2 separate regions of the Homo sapiens genome follow, and region 2 is linked to region 1. The links are contacts of gene promoters, found by promoter capture Hi-C in human tissues and cell types (Jung and others, 2019). All regions are on one chromosome and are shown on one strand. Each heading gives the region's core, a stretch centred on a gene start or on the middle of the fragment in contact. The rest is flanking DNA. Distances are from core to core; before and after follow the strand shown. Region 1 holds the start of OOSP1 (oocyte secreted protein 1). Region 2 has its middle 25 kb from the start of OOSP4B.

Region 1 (7,326 bases), core at 2,741-5,240:
ATACCCACAGTTTCATGATATATAAAGACTTGTCCACAAAACTCAAGCTAGCAAGCAGGCTTTTATAGAAATTGAGTAAAAACAGTGCTATCCTTTCCCTTCTATCTTGAAATATCTGGACATTAAGTTTTTTTACTCTGGAAATGGAAATAATTTTCTGATACAATCTGCTGCTTGAATTAGGTCCCAGGGAAAGAGAATTAGATCAAACTAGAAATTATGAGACTGGGTAGGCATGAGTTTTTTTGTTTTTGATTTTTTAAGAGTAAGTTTGGCTATTCTTCTAGACTTCACTAAAGGAAAATTTTATCAGTTGCTCTTAAGATACTAGAAGGAGCCTGAGTTCTCAGGAGATACTGAAAACTCAGCGGAGAAACCAAAGGAATATAAATCTGCAATCCTTTCACAGAAGGGGCTATACATATTGCAAATAACTATATGAAAAGATGTTTAATATCATCAGCCATTATGGAAATCCAAATTCAAATCACGATATTACTACACACCTATCACAATGGCTAAGATGAATAATAGTGAAGACACCAAACGCTGGTGAGGATGCCGAGAAACTGGGTCACTCATACATTGCTGGGACAATGTGAAATGTATCAACCACACTAGAAAACAGTTTGTCAATTTCTTTAAAAACTAAACATACAACAACCATATGACTCAACAATTAAACTCTTCGGCATTTATCCCAGGGAAATAAAAATGTATGTTCACATAAAATGTACATAAATGGGCTGGGCGAGGTGGCTCACTCCTGTAATCCCAGCACTTTAGGAGGGCGAGCCGGGTGGATCACGAGGTCAGGAGTTCAAGACCAGTCTGATCAACATGGTAAAACCCCATCTCTACAAAAAATACAAAAATTAGCCAGGCATGGTGGCACGTGCCTGTAATCCCAGCTACTCAGGAGGCTGAGGCAGGAGAATCATGTGAACCTGGGAGGCAGAGGTTGCAGTGAGCCGAGATGGTGCCACTGCACTCCAGCCTGGGCGACAAAGCTAGACTCTGTCTCAAAAAAAAAAAAAGTACATAAATGCTAACAATAGCTTCATTTATAATAGTCAAAAACTGAAGACAGCCCAGATGTCTTTTGGTGGGTGAATGGTTAAACAAACCATGGTACAATCATGCCATGGAATTCCACTCAGCAATAAAAAGAATCAAGTGTTGATACACGCAACATCTTGGATGAATCTTCAAGGAATTACACTGAGTGAAAAAAAACGCCAATTCCAAAAGGTTACAAACTCTGAGCCCATTTATATAACACCCTTGAAATGACAAAATTGTAGAAATGGAGAACAGATCTGTGCTTGACAAAAATTAAGGAAAACGGAGACAGAAGGTTTGGCATTAGTGGTTCAGGAGGAAAGTAGAAGTGGCTCTAAAAGTGGCATCCTGATTACAATAGAAATGTCTGTCCTTTGGCTACATCAATATTAATATCCCAATGTAATACTGTATTATATTTCTGCAAGATGTTACCATTGTGTGAAGCTGAATAAATAGTATAATTGATCTCTGTATTATTTCTTACACTGCATGTGAATCTACAATTACCTAAAAATAAGACGTTCCTTAAATGTAAAACCAGTTATTCATATCCACATTAGCAAAAAGTAAGACATCTGTGAGCACCAATTAGAATTAAAGAACAATTGAGCAAGAGAGTTACTTTTCAGATCTGTACCTGTGGCCTCACAGTCCCATTCCTAGATATGCACACACAAAAAGAAACCACTCAAATACAAACATTATTTGTAACGGCCCCACACTAGAAAAATTCTATCAATGTGAGAACAGAAACAATTTGCAATGCATTTATTCACTGGACTGCTAAATAGTAATTAAAATATACCAAAGCTACAAATGTAAATCTCCAAGTGATGGACAACAAAAAAGCTGTAGAATTAAATAGAAATAGAAGATAAATGCCTGCGAAACATATTTACAGATCCACAAATTTGACGTAAAATTGTAAAACACACAGGAAAATGAATAATTACCAAACTCACATATGGGCAAAGAGGGAAGAGAATAGGATCAGGAATGACCACAGGGACTTCAACTCTACCTGAACTTTTACTTCTATTAGAAAATAAAATGTAAGCAAATGTAGCAAATTATGGATTTAATAAAGCTGAAGAGCAGGTCAGTGAATATTGATATTATTCCTTATAGTTACCTGCTTTTTTAAACTTAGTTATCCATTTTAAATAGTTCCTAATAAAAGAAAGCATAATGAATACACTAAGATTCTAACATGTACCCATGTCAGGTCTAGGTTGTCTTGTTGAACGGGTAGCTTGACAAGTATACACAACCTTTCACTGCAATTCCGAAATCTTAACCTTAGAAATTGACAGCCCAGGCAGGAAGCAGTGGCTCACGCCTTTAATCCTAAAGCTTTGGGAAGCCAAGGTGGGAGGATTCCTTGAGGTCAAGAGTTGGAGACTAGCCTGGGCAACATAGCAAGTCTCTACAAAAAATTTTTTTTTAATTAGCAGTTCACAGCTGCAGTGAGCTACGATGGCACCACTGCACTCCAGCCTGAGTGACAAAGAAAGAAAGAAAACAAAAGAAAGAGAAAGAAGAGAAAGAGAAGAGAAAGAGAAAAAGAAAAGAAAGAGAAAGATGAGAAAGAGAAGGGGAAAGAAGAGAAAAAGAAAAAAGAGAAAAAGAAGAGAAAGAGAAAGAGGAAGGGAAGAGCAAGGGACGAGGAAGAGGGAACAGGAAGAGAAGAGGAAGAGAAAGAAGAGGAAGAGAAAGGGAAGAGTAATAGAAAGGGAAGAGGAAGAGAAAGGGAAGAAAAAAAAGAAAAAGAGAGAAGGAGAGAAAGAAAAGAAAACAGAAAAAAGCATTCAGCACAGTGGCTCATACCTGTTATACCAGCACTTTGGGAGACCGAGGTGGGCAGATCACTTGAGGCCAGGAGTTTGAGACCAGCCTGGCCAATATGGTAAAACCCCGTCTCTACTAAAAATACAAAAATTAGCTGGATGTGGTGGTGCACATCTGCAGTGCCAGCTACTTGGGAGGCTGAGGCACAAGAATCACATGAACCCGGGAGGCAGAGGCTGTAGTGAGCCCAGATCATACCACTGCACTCCAGCCTCGGTGACAGCGAGACTCTTGTCCCAAAAAAAAAAGAAAGGAAGAAAAGAAGGAAAGGAGGAAGGAAGGGAAAGAAAAGAAAGAGGGAGGGAGGAGGGAACGAGGGAGAAAGAGAAAGAAAGGAAGAAAGAAGGGAGGAGAGAAAGAAAGGAAAAGAGAAAGAGAAGCAGAAATAGAGGAAGAGAAACTGACAGCCCAAGTTTATACTCAGGGCTACCAATCATTCTGGTTTGCTCCGAACAGGAGGTTTTTGGGGCCGACGCAGGAAAAGTACTGGGAAAACCTGGACCACTGCTCACCTCACTTAGGGGGCACTGACTGCTCCCTCTGAAATGAAAAGGATCTATGAAGTATAAGGTAAAGAAAGGCTAAGCCTTATAAGGCTTTCTTCCTGTATGTGACACACCACAGAGTCCCAAGTTCCTACCACCACCCACTCCTCTGTTTTCCAGGCCACTCCACACTCTTTATATTAAACCCACTTCAAGTACTTGATCCCCAAGAATTGATATGGTCAGAATAAGATCAAAAGGAAAGGGGAGTTGGAGAAAGACAGTCTCAGGTTAGGGCACATTCCCTAGTCTCAGTGCCGGTATGCAAGAGAAAAACATGGTATCTCAAGATTGCACATCGAAAAGAGGCACCACCCCTCCATGTGTCCTTGGCTATTATTAAGATTCAACCAGACCACAACTGTAAAGAATCCAAAGCCACATCTTTCAGCTCTCTTTAAGAAACTTCTATTCCCCAAGTGATAAGTTATACCTGACCAGTCCCCAGCGCAGGTCCATATCAAGGAATGCAGATAAAAGAGCCCTTTGAACCCCAGAATGGTCTTCATTTGCCCAGATTGAAAACCAAACCTCACTCAGGAAACAGGAAGTTGGGGAGAATAGCCTTATATGCCAAAATGCCTGAAGCCACACATAGGTGTGGGTAATTAATTACAACTTTGGACAGCACACACGTGCCATAAATATAATTTTGTTTCATTTTCTAAGATGTTACACTTTTTACTCAAATGTCAAAAAACAAGAGCAAAGATAAAGCAAAATGTGCAATAGAAGTACAACAGAAGGCTTCACTTGTTTTAGAGTCCAAAGCATCAGATATAGTTATTTTTATGCACTAAGGTTTACTTTATTAAAACTTCCTAATATCCTATAACATCTGTCTCCACATCTGAACACGAAAGAAATAACTGGATGATAATTTACTTGTTCTGTGCATCTCAGAAGGCCAAGCCCTGAGAACATGGGAATTGAAAGATTTCATCTACTTTCACCTGTTTTCACCAACTAAACAGTGGTACTCAAACTTAATAGATATCAGAATCACCGGGAGAGCTTATTGAAGCACAGCTGAGTGTCATTTAGTTTTCTGATTCACTAAGACTGGGCTGGGACCTGAGAATTGATGTTTCTCACAAGTTCCCAGGCGATGCTCATACTGACCACCCAGGGACCACACTTTGAGAATCCCTGGTCTACAGGGTTTTGCCTTCAGAGTGCATGCTGTGTTGATGCCCATTAGCAGCGATGTTTGCTTCTCAAACTTTAAGGAGCATATACATCACTTGAGGCTCTCTTTACAATGCAGATTCTAATTCGGAATGTCTGGGGTGAAGGCTAAGATTCTGCATTTTAAGATTGCAGGGATGTTGCTCTGGAGACTACGTTGTGAGTAGCAATGCCTGTAAATGGTTACTCACATTTAGATTCCTTTCTTCAAAACAGAAGATGCCAACTTAAAAATGAGAAATTCAAAATCTCATTACCAAAACAAGCCTAAATGAATGTTTGGTTCAAATATATTCTGATTTTTTTCGCTAATAACCAGTTATTAGAGTTTAGCAACTGTGTCCTACGTTAATAGAACGTGGAAAGTAGGAGCTTACCAAAAACAAATAGAAAAGACTATATAAATGCATTTAACTATCCTTGATATTATCTGAATTTTATCATTAAATTTAGTCTGTTCTAAAAGTTCTAAAATGCCATTAAATGATGAGCTCTTCAAAGGTTGAGATCATTCCTCTGTATTTTTGTGTGTCCTAACTTTCACAAAATGGGTGCCCAATAAAAGATGGCAGGAGAAAGAAAAAAAATAGAATTAGTTAGCATTTGTTCCTTTTAAAAATTTTTGTTTGTTTTTGTTTTGTTTTTGTTTTTTTGAGATGGAGTTTAGCTCTTGTCACCCAGGCTAGAATGCAATGGCACGATCTCCGCTCCCCGCACTCTCTGCCTCCTGGGTTCTAGCGATTCTCCTGCTTAGACTCCCAAGCAGCTAGGATTACAGGCGCCCGCCACTATGGCCAGCTAATTTCTGTGTTTTTAGTAGAGATGTGGTTTCGCCAAGTTGGCCAGGCTGGTCTCGAACTCCTGACCTCAAGTGGTCTGCCTGCCTCGCCCTCCCAAAATGCTGGGATTACTGGTGTGAGCCACTGAGCATGGCCTCTTTTTAAGTTTTTGAAATGTTTACATTTCACTTGTGTTAAAGACACAAATATATTTTAATTTTAATAATTATGCTTTTTTAATTTAATGTGTATTGAGATTAAAGGTATATTAAAACATTTCAGATACATTGCTATCTAGATGGACAGTGCTAAGGTTCAGTCCAAATGAATGTCAAAACCTTGTCCACAGGTACCTAAGGATGCACAAGGCAATGTCTCTGACTTTCAGCCACCCAGTCTTAGCCTCGTGTATCTGACAATCTGCGAAACTACTATTGTTATCAAATCGTCAATAAACTAGTAAAGAATAGGTGGCTTGAATCTTAAAAATTACCTGGTTAAATCACTGGAAGAGCAATACTTTCAAGGTGAGGATGGAAGCATTGAAGAGGTGACAGGGTCTCTTCATAGAGACAGGGTTTTGCCATGTTGGCCAGAATGGTCTCAAACTCCTGACCTCAGGTGATCTGCCTGCCTCAGCCTCCCAAAGTGCTAAGATTATAGGCTTGAGCCACCAAGCCCAGACTGCCATGTGTATATCCTTTTAAGGAAGTATCTATTCAAATATTTTATTCATTTTTATTGAGTTATTTCTCATCTTATTGAGTTGTACCTCATGACTTTTGTTTTGTATGGAAATGTCTTTTCAGAAGAGTCTTGGCTAGCTATCTTGAGTAAAGACTCTCATTCAGAATCTGATTATTTCCTCACAATTAGACTCGAACCTTTTTGGCAAGAATAAATGAAGTTAAAAATGTTATAATCTTAAGAACATTTCTATAGCTTTTCCGTTGTTTTAGAGCTCTTTATATATTAGGGAGATTATCCTTTTATCCGCGATATAAGATGCAAATATTTTCCTCCTAGGCAGTCATTTGTCTTTTGATTTTGCTTGTGGTATTTTTGCCTCAAAGTTTGTTTAATTTTTGCTTCAGATTCTATTTGGTCACATTTTACTTATTCCTTCTGGAATCTGAGTCATAATTACAACAGACTCGCTTACACCTATTTAATATAATAATTAATAGAAGCAGGCTAAATACACATTGAGCATTTTACTTCGACTGGAGTATGACCAGTACAGGGCTGGTAATTCACTATTAACTGTGTCATTTGTTTGTCTCTATCCAGTGGGATCCCCAGACACCTAACTAATTCAAATTAACTCTCAGCTAAATGGCTAGCAACACTAAAATATGGCAGTTATGTCCCCATTTACACATGTATTCAGACAGAAAAAAATAAGAAAGAATCCTCTCACTAGCTAAGGTGTCCAATGGTCTGGCCTACAGAAGTGTCTCCCTGACTAAGAGAAACAGGATACTTCAGTCTCACTCTCAATAAATCTCTGGACCGGGGCTCAACCAGCCTTCCCTTTCAGAGGCTGAAGATACTGAGTAATTCTCCTATACGCATCTGCATTCTCTTTTCTTGCCTTGGGTTTAGAGAATTACACTTCTATCTTGCCAAATTTTCTTTTTTTTACAAAAAGAATTATTTCCCTTAGAAAATTTTTAGGATATGTGACTAGTTATAGCAGAGGGTCCCAAACATTCACCTAGTTCTCTTAATGATACAGTAACTTTTGTTGTTTGTTTGCTTTTTATGGCATCCTTTCATGAAAAGAAATACATAACAGCTTCATTTATTATGTTGTTACATCAAAATAACTTCAGTATTTTTGTGCTGACAACTTAGTAGCCATTTGAAAACACATACATTGGAAGAAAATATTTTTATTT
Region 2 (7,326 bases), core at 3,240-5,739, 53 kb before region 1:
TTAGATTTATCAGTATTATTCTGTATTACATTTTGTTCAAATGAGGAAGGCTTTCTGAAAAACAGGGAGAAAAACATATGCAGGGATTTGAGGCTGGTATATACATTACTGTTATTTTTGTAATGGCAGGGAATATGAGAATAGAAATAAACTAGACATCTCTCTTTGGGTTTTAAAAGATAGAACACCAAATCAAGTCATTTTATGTTGAAACGGAAATTTGCTATTTTGCAGAAGGATAAGCAAAAGTTTCTAACGGAATGTCAGTTAGAACTTTCCATTACCCCAGAATTAGTGATTGTGACCCAGAGCTAAAATCAAAGTAGTAGCAAATGCCAGAAACTTTTAGATTTGCTGAACCAGATCTGGTATCTTTAAACATGTCACCCTATAGTCTACAGAATATCATGAAATTCTGTTTTGCATTCCTGGCCTGGTGGGTGAGGAGTCTACTGAAATACTCCTCTTCTTTGTGAAGCCAAAGTAAGGTGCCTTAAATGAAGAGTTAGACACCAAGGATACCTACACTGGAGACTGGCATCTCACTTCCAAGTAGCTATCTGCTTATGTAGTAGGCTGCTGTATCTTCCACATATACATCTTTAGTACGGAGAAAAAAAATTTGAGAAGTCCAAGAAGCAAAAAGAGTAGAGTGGAAGAGCCATACAACCCCAACATTTGGCAGGTGATTTCCTACCAATACCCGGATTGAGTTATTTCTGAAGTATAGCAACTAGCAATGCTTTATATGTGCAGGTTACTAATTATCTGTGTAGGGGTCCCCAAGAAATAAGAGGCTCAATGATCAACAACCAAGTTAAGAGACTGAGGAAGGGTATCAAAAGTAACATCTGGGTGGAGCCAGTAAAGCCTTATATAGATTGCCTCATCAAAACTACACATTGGCATCTCTAGGCCTTTAGTGAGCCCTAAAGACCCAAGCAAATCTGAGCAACATTTAGAGTGTACAGTAAAAACTTACTTGATCAAAGCTACTGGAAATGGATGACAACTGTGCCAGGTTGACACTCATCCTTCCTCTCTTTTTATCCTTTTTCTCTACCTTATAGAAATGGATGCAACTGTGCCAGGTTGACACTCATCCTTCCTCTCTTTTTATCCTTTTTCTCTACCTTAACACACCAAGGCAGTAAAGAAAGCAGAAGATAAAGTATTTATAGAGTAGGTTGAGCCTTCTTTTTGTCCAATCATTTGTACCCAGGGCAGGCAGTAGTAAAGGAGGGGAACATTAAATTTGATATGAAATTGAGGTTTTCATTGAGCTTAATTTATCATAGGAGAAAAAGGCAAAAGATGTTGTAATGGTATGGGAAGGGAAGACTTTACAGAACAGAGCTGATCTGAGTTATTGAAAAAGAAATATAATCATTTACTTATGCTTTTATATAGCTCCGATTATTCAAAAGTAGACTATATTTAAAATTCCAACAGATACGTAATTGGGCCACATAAATAACTGAGCCAAGAATGGGCCAAGTTACCTGACCTCTGCATCTATAGGCTCTTCTACATTATTCTCTCATTGCAGAAGTGTTCTTAAAAACGAGGAGAAAATGGTGGTCATTAGCAAGTCTTCATTGTTATAACTCTGGGTAAATCAGAAACTGACTCTGTTTTAGTTTGAACATTTTGGAAGAAAAAATCACTTTGAATCTCTTGGGCCATTCTTATCCCTGGGACCAACAACTGCAGAGTGGTGGTATGTTCACAGAAGAAATCAATAGTTCCTATGATAGCCTTGGGACTGGGCAGGTTGGAAGTGGTAGGTACAAACAAAGAATGCCCGGGAAAAGGAAAGTTCACTAACAAAATCTTGTTAGAGAAGAAAGAAAAATCAGGCCAAATTCAGCTGATGCCCATCCACAGAGAGAATGTTTAAACTATCCCTAGCCAGAAGGGAATCACCAATCCCAGCAGTCGGAACTTGAGTTCCCGCGAACCTCACCACAGAGGGCTAAAGTGTTCTGAGTCTCTAAGTAAACTTGAAAGGCAGTCTAGGCCATAAGGACTGAAACTCTTAGATGAGTCCTAGTGCTGAACTGGTCCCAGAGACAGTGAACTGGGGGAACACATGACCTACTAAGATACAAGCCATGCAGCTAAGGAAGTGCTGGCATTACCCAACCCCTAAACCCAGGTTGCATAGCTTGTGGCTCCAAAAGAGAGCTCTTTCTTCTGCTTGAGGAGAGGAGAAAGGAGAGTGGGGAGGACTTTGTCTTCATCTTGAATACCAGTTCAACCACAGCAGGAGAGGGCATTGGTCAGAGTTGTTAGTCCCCCAATTCCAGGTCCTAGCTTCCAGACATTTCTAGACACACCCTTGGCCAGAAGGGAACCCACTGCTTTGAAGGGAAGGATGCAGTCCTGGCAACATTTATCACCTGCTAACTGAGAAGCCCTTGGGCCCTGAATTATCAGCAGTGATAAGCAGGTACTACATCAAGGGCCTGGGGGGAGCCTCTGAGACTTGCTGACTTCAGGTGGGACTTACCACATTACGGATAAAGCTGTGGTGGCTATGGGGCAAAACTCCTGCTTGAGAAAAAAAAGTCCAGGACCAGAGAGATTCACAGCTGAATTCTATCAGGCTTTCAAAGAAAAATTGGTACCAATTCTATTGACAATATTCCACAAGATAGAGAAAGAGGGAATCCTCCTTAACTCATTCTATGAAGCCAGTATCACCTTAATATCAAAACCAGGAAAGGATATAACAAAAAAAGAAAACTACAGGCCAATATCCCTGAGGAATATAGATGCAAAAATCCTCAACAAAATACTAGCAAACTGAATCCAACAGCATATCAAAAAGGTAATTCACCATGATCAAGTGGGTTTTATACCAGGGATTCAGAGATTGTTTAACATATGCAAGTCAATAAATATAGTACACCACACAAACAGAATTAGAAGCAAAAGTCACATGATCATCTAATCAGTGTAGAAGAAGGATTTGACAAAATCCAGCATCCTTTTATAATTAAAACCCTCAGCAAAATCAGTATAGAAGGAACACACCTTAAGGTAATAAAAGCCATTTATGACAAACTCACAGCCCACATTATACTGAACAGGGAAAAGTTGCAAAGCATTCCCCCTGAGAACTAGAACACTACAAGGATGACCTCTTTCACCACTTCTATTCAACATAGTACAGGAAGTCCTAGCCACAGCAATCAGACAAGAGAAAGAAATAAATGGCATCCAGATCGGTAAAGAGGAAGTCAAACTGTGACTGTTTGCTGATGATATAATCGTATAACCTAGAAAACCCTAAACGGCCATCCAAAAAACTTCTAGAACTGGTAAACGAGTTTAGCAAAGTTTCAGGATACAAAATTAATGTACACAAATCAGTAGCTCTGCTATACACTAACAGCGACCAAACTGAGAAATCAGGAACTCAACCCCTTTCACAATAGATTCAAAAAAAATAAAATACTTAGGAACATACCTAGCCAAGGACATGAAAGACCTCTACAAGGAAAACTACAAAACACTGCTGAAATAAATCATAGATAACACAAACAAGTGCTTCCAGTGGGATGGAAAACACATCCCATCCTCATGGATGGGCAGAATCAATATTGTGAAAATGACCATAGTGCCAAAAACAATCTTCAAATTCAATGCAATTCCCATAAAAACACTAGCATCCTTCTTCACAAAACAAGAAAAAACAATCCTAAAATTCATATGGAAACAAAAAGGCTTGCATAGCCAAAGCAAGACTAAGTGAAAAGAACAAATCTGGAAGCATCACATTATCCAACTTCACACTATACTATAAGGCCATAGTCACCAAAACAGTATGGTCCTGGTATAAAAATAGGCACATAAGCCAATGGAACAGAATAAAGAACCCAGAAATAAAGCCAAAAACTTATCACCAACTGATCTTCAACAAAACAAACAAAAATATAAAGTGGGGAAAAGACACCCTATTCAATAAATGGTGCTGGTATACTTAGCAAGCCACAGGTAGAAGAAATGAAACTGGATCCTCTTCTCTCACCTTATACAAAAATCAACTCAAGATAGATCAAAGCCTTAAATTTAAGACCTAAAAACTATAAATATTCTAGAAGATAACATCAGAAAAAACCTTCTAGACATTGGCTCAGGCAAAGACTTCAAGACCAAGAGCCCAAAAGCAAAAACAACAAAAACAAAGGTAAATAGATAGGACTTAATTAAACTAAAAAGCTTCTGCAGAGCAAAAGAAATAATCAGCAGAGTAAACAGACAACCCGGAGTGGGAGAAAATCTTCACAAACTATATATCTGACAAAGGACCAATATCCAGAATCTATAAGGAACTCAAACAAATCAGCAAGAAAAAAAACAATCCCATCAAAAAGTGGGCTAAGGACATGAATAGACAATTCTCAAAAGAAGATATGCAAATGACTGACAAGCATATGGAAAGTGCTCAACATCACAATGATGAGAGAAATGCAGATCGAAACCACAATGCGATACCACCTCACTTCTGTAAGAATGGCCATAATCAAAAAAATCAAAAAAAATAGATGTTGGCATGGATGGTGTAAAAAGGGAACATGTTTACACTGTTGGTGGGAATGTAAACTAGTACAACTGCTATGAAAAATAGTGTGAAGATTCCTTAAAGAAGTAAAAGTAGATCTACTGCTTGATTCAGCAATCCCACTACTAGGTATCTACCCAGAGAAAAAGTCATAATACAAAAAAGATACTCGCACATTCATGTTTATAGCAGCATGATTTGCAATTGCAAAAATATGGAACCAACCCAAAATGCCCATCAATCAACGAGGAGATAAAGAAAATGTGGTATATACATGCCATGGAATACTACTCAGCCATAAAAAGGAATTAAATAATGGCATTCACAGCAACCAGAATGGAATCAAAGACTATTATTCTAAGTAAAGTAAATCATGAATGAAAAACCAAACATCATATGTTCTCATTCATATGTGGGAGCTAAGCTATGAGGATGCAAAGGCATAAGAATGATACATTGGACTTTGAGGACTCGGGGGAAGGGTGGGGGGTGGTGAGGAATAAAACACTACACATTGGGTACAGTGTACACTGCTCGGGTGATGGATGCACCAAAGTCTCAGAAATCATCACTGAAGAATTTATTCATGTAACCAAACACCACCTGTTCTCCCAAAACCTATTGAAATTAAAAAATTAAAAATTAAAAAAATTTTAAATCAGTAGCATTTCTATATGTCAGCAATAAACAATGTGAAAAATAAATTAAAAAGTAATCCCATTTACAATAGCCATACACAAAATTAAATATGTAGGAATTAACCAAAGAAGTGAAAGATCTCTATAATGAAAATTATAAAACACTAGAGAAAGAAATTAAAGAGGACACCCCCCAAAAATGGAAAAATATTCCATTTTCATGGATTGGAAGAATCAATGCTGTTAACATATCAATAGTACCTAAAGCAATCTACAGATTCATTGCAATCCGTACCAAATTCCAATTACATTCTTCACAGAAATAGGAAAAACAATCCTAACATTTATATAGAACCACAAAAGACCCAGAATAGCCAAAGCTATCCTAAGCAAAAAAGAACAAAAGTGGAGGAATCACATTACCTAACTTCAAATTATACTACAGAGCTATAGTAACCAAAACAGCATGGTAGTGACATAAAAACAGACACAAAAATCAATGGAACAGAATAGAGCACCCAGAAACAAATCCACACACCTATAGTGAACTCATTTTCAACAATTGTGCCAATAATGTACACTGGGGAAAAGACAGTCTCTTTCATAAATAGTGCTGGGAAACTGGATATCCATATGCAGAAGAATTAAACTAGATCCCTATCTCTTGCCATATACAAAAAATCAAATCAAAATGGATTAAAAATTTAAATCTAAAACATCAAACTATGAAACTAAAAGAAAACATTGGGGAAAATCTCCAGGGCATTGGTCTGGGCAGAAATTTCTTGAGCAATGCCCTATAAGCATAGGCAACCAAAGCAAAATTGTACAAATGTGATCACATCAAGTTACAAAGCTTCTGCACAGCAAAGGATCCAATCAACAAAGGAAAGAGACAACCCGAAGACTGAGAGAAAGTATTTACAAACTACCCATCTGATGAGGGGTTAATCACCAGAATGTATAAAGAACTCAAACAACTTTATAGGCAAAAAAATCTAATAATCTGATAAAAGAAAAAGTGGGTAAAAGGTTTGAATAAACATTTCTCAAAAGATGACATACAAATGGCAGACAGGCATATGGAAATAGATCAGAGAAATGTAAATAAAAAATACAATGAGATATCATCTCGCCCGAGTTAAAATAGCTTGTACTTGCCAAAGACAAGCAATAACAAATGCTGGTGAGAATGTGGAGAAAAGAGAACCCTCATACCCTGTTGGTGAGAATATAAGTTAGTACAACCACTATGGGGGACAGTTTGGAAGTTCCCTAAAGAACTAAAAATAGAGCTACCATGTGATCCAGCAATCCCACTGCTCAGTATATACTCAAAAGAAATCAGTATGTTGAAGAGATATACACTCCCATGTTTGTTGCAGCATTGTTCACAATAGTTAAGATTTGGAAGCAACTTAAGTGTCCACTTTATCCAGATGGATGGATAAAGGCAATGTGGTACATATACACAATGGAGTACTATTCAGCCATAAAAAAAGAATAAGATCCTACCATGTGCAACAACATGGATGGAACTGGAGGTCATTAAGTGAAATGAGCCAGGCAGAGAAAGACAAACATTGCATGTTCTCACTTATTTGTAGGATCTAAAAATCAAAACAATTGAACCGATGGACATAGAGAGTAGAAGAATGGCTATCAAAGACCAGAAAATGTAGTGGTAGGTTGAGAGAGGGAGGAGGGGTGGTTGGTTAATGCATACCAAAAAAATAGAAAAAAAATGAATAAGATCTACAATTTGATAGCACAACACAGTGACTGTAGTCAATAATAACTTAATTGTGGATTTAAAAATAACCAAAGGAGACTAATTAGATTGTGACACAAAGGATAAATGCTTGAGGGGATGGATACCCCCATTCTCCATGTGATTATTATGCAATGCATGACTGTATCAAAACATCTCATGTACCACATAAATATATACACCTACTATGTACCCACAAGAATTAAACATTTAAAATTTTTTTAAAAACCACAATAGTGTCAGCTACCAGAGAAACAAATAGGTTCATTTTATTAATAAAATACATTGAGACAGTCAGCTTTATATATAAACATTCATATATTATATGACATATCTACTCATATAAA

What was found. Contacts are between HindIII fragments. The study calls those that stand out against the background at their distance.
Region 2: a contact is called between a fragment that was not itself captured here and the fragment with the promoter of OOSP1 in region 1, in 1 of the 25 tissues and cell types used here (hippocampus).

What each region holds. Positions count from the first base shown.
Region 1 is chr11:59,935,096-59,942,421 of GRCh38, reverse strand. It overlaps OOSP1 (oocyte secreted protein 1), which reads right to left and starts at 3,990. Exons shown (of 5, transcript NM_001395276.1): 1 at 3,892-3,990. The coding sequence starts at 3,967. The HindIII fragment of the contact is 12,909 bases long and covers 1-7,326 here.
Region 2 is chr11:59,988,547-59,995,872 of GRCh38, reverse strand. No RefSeq gene overlaps it. Among named protein-coding and RNA genes, the nearest start is that of OOSP4B, 25 kb to the left of the region's middle. The HindIII fragment of the contact is 5,564 bases long and covers 1,708-7,271 here.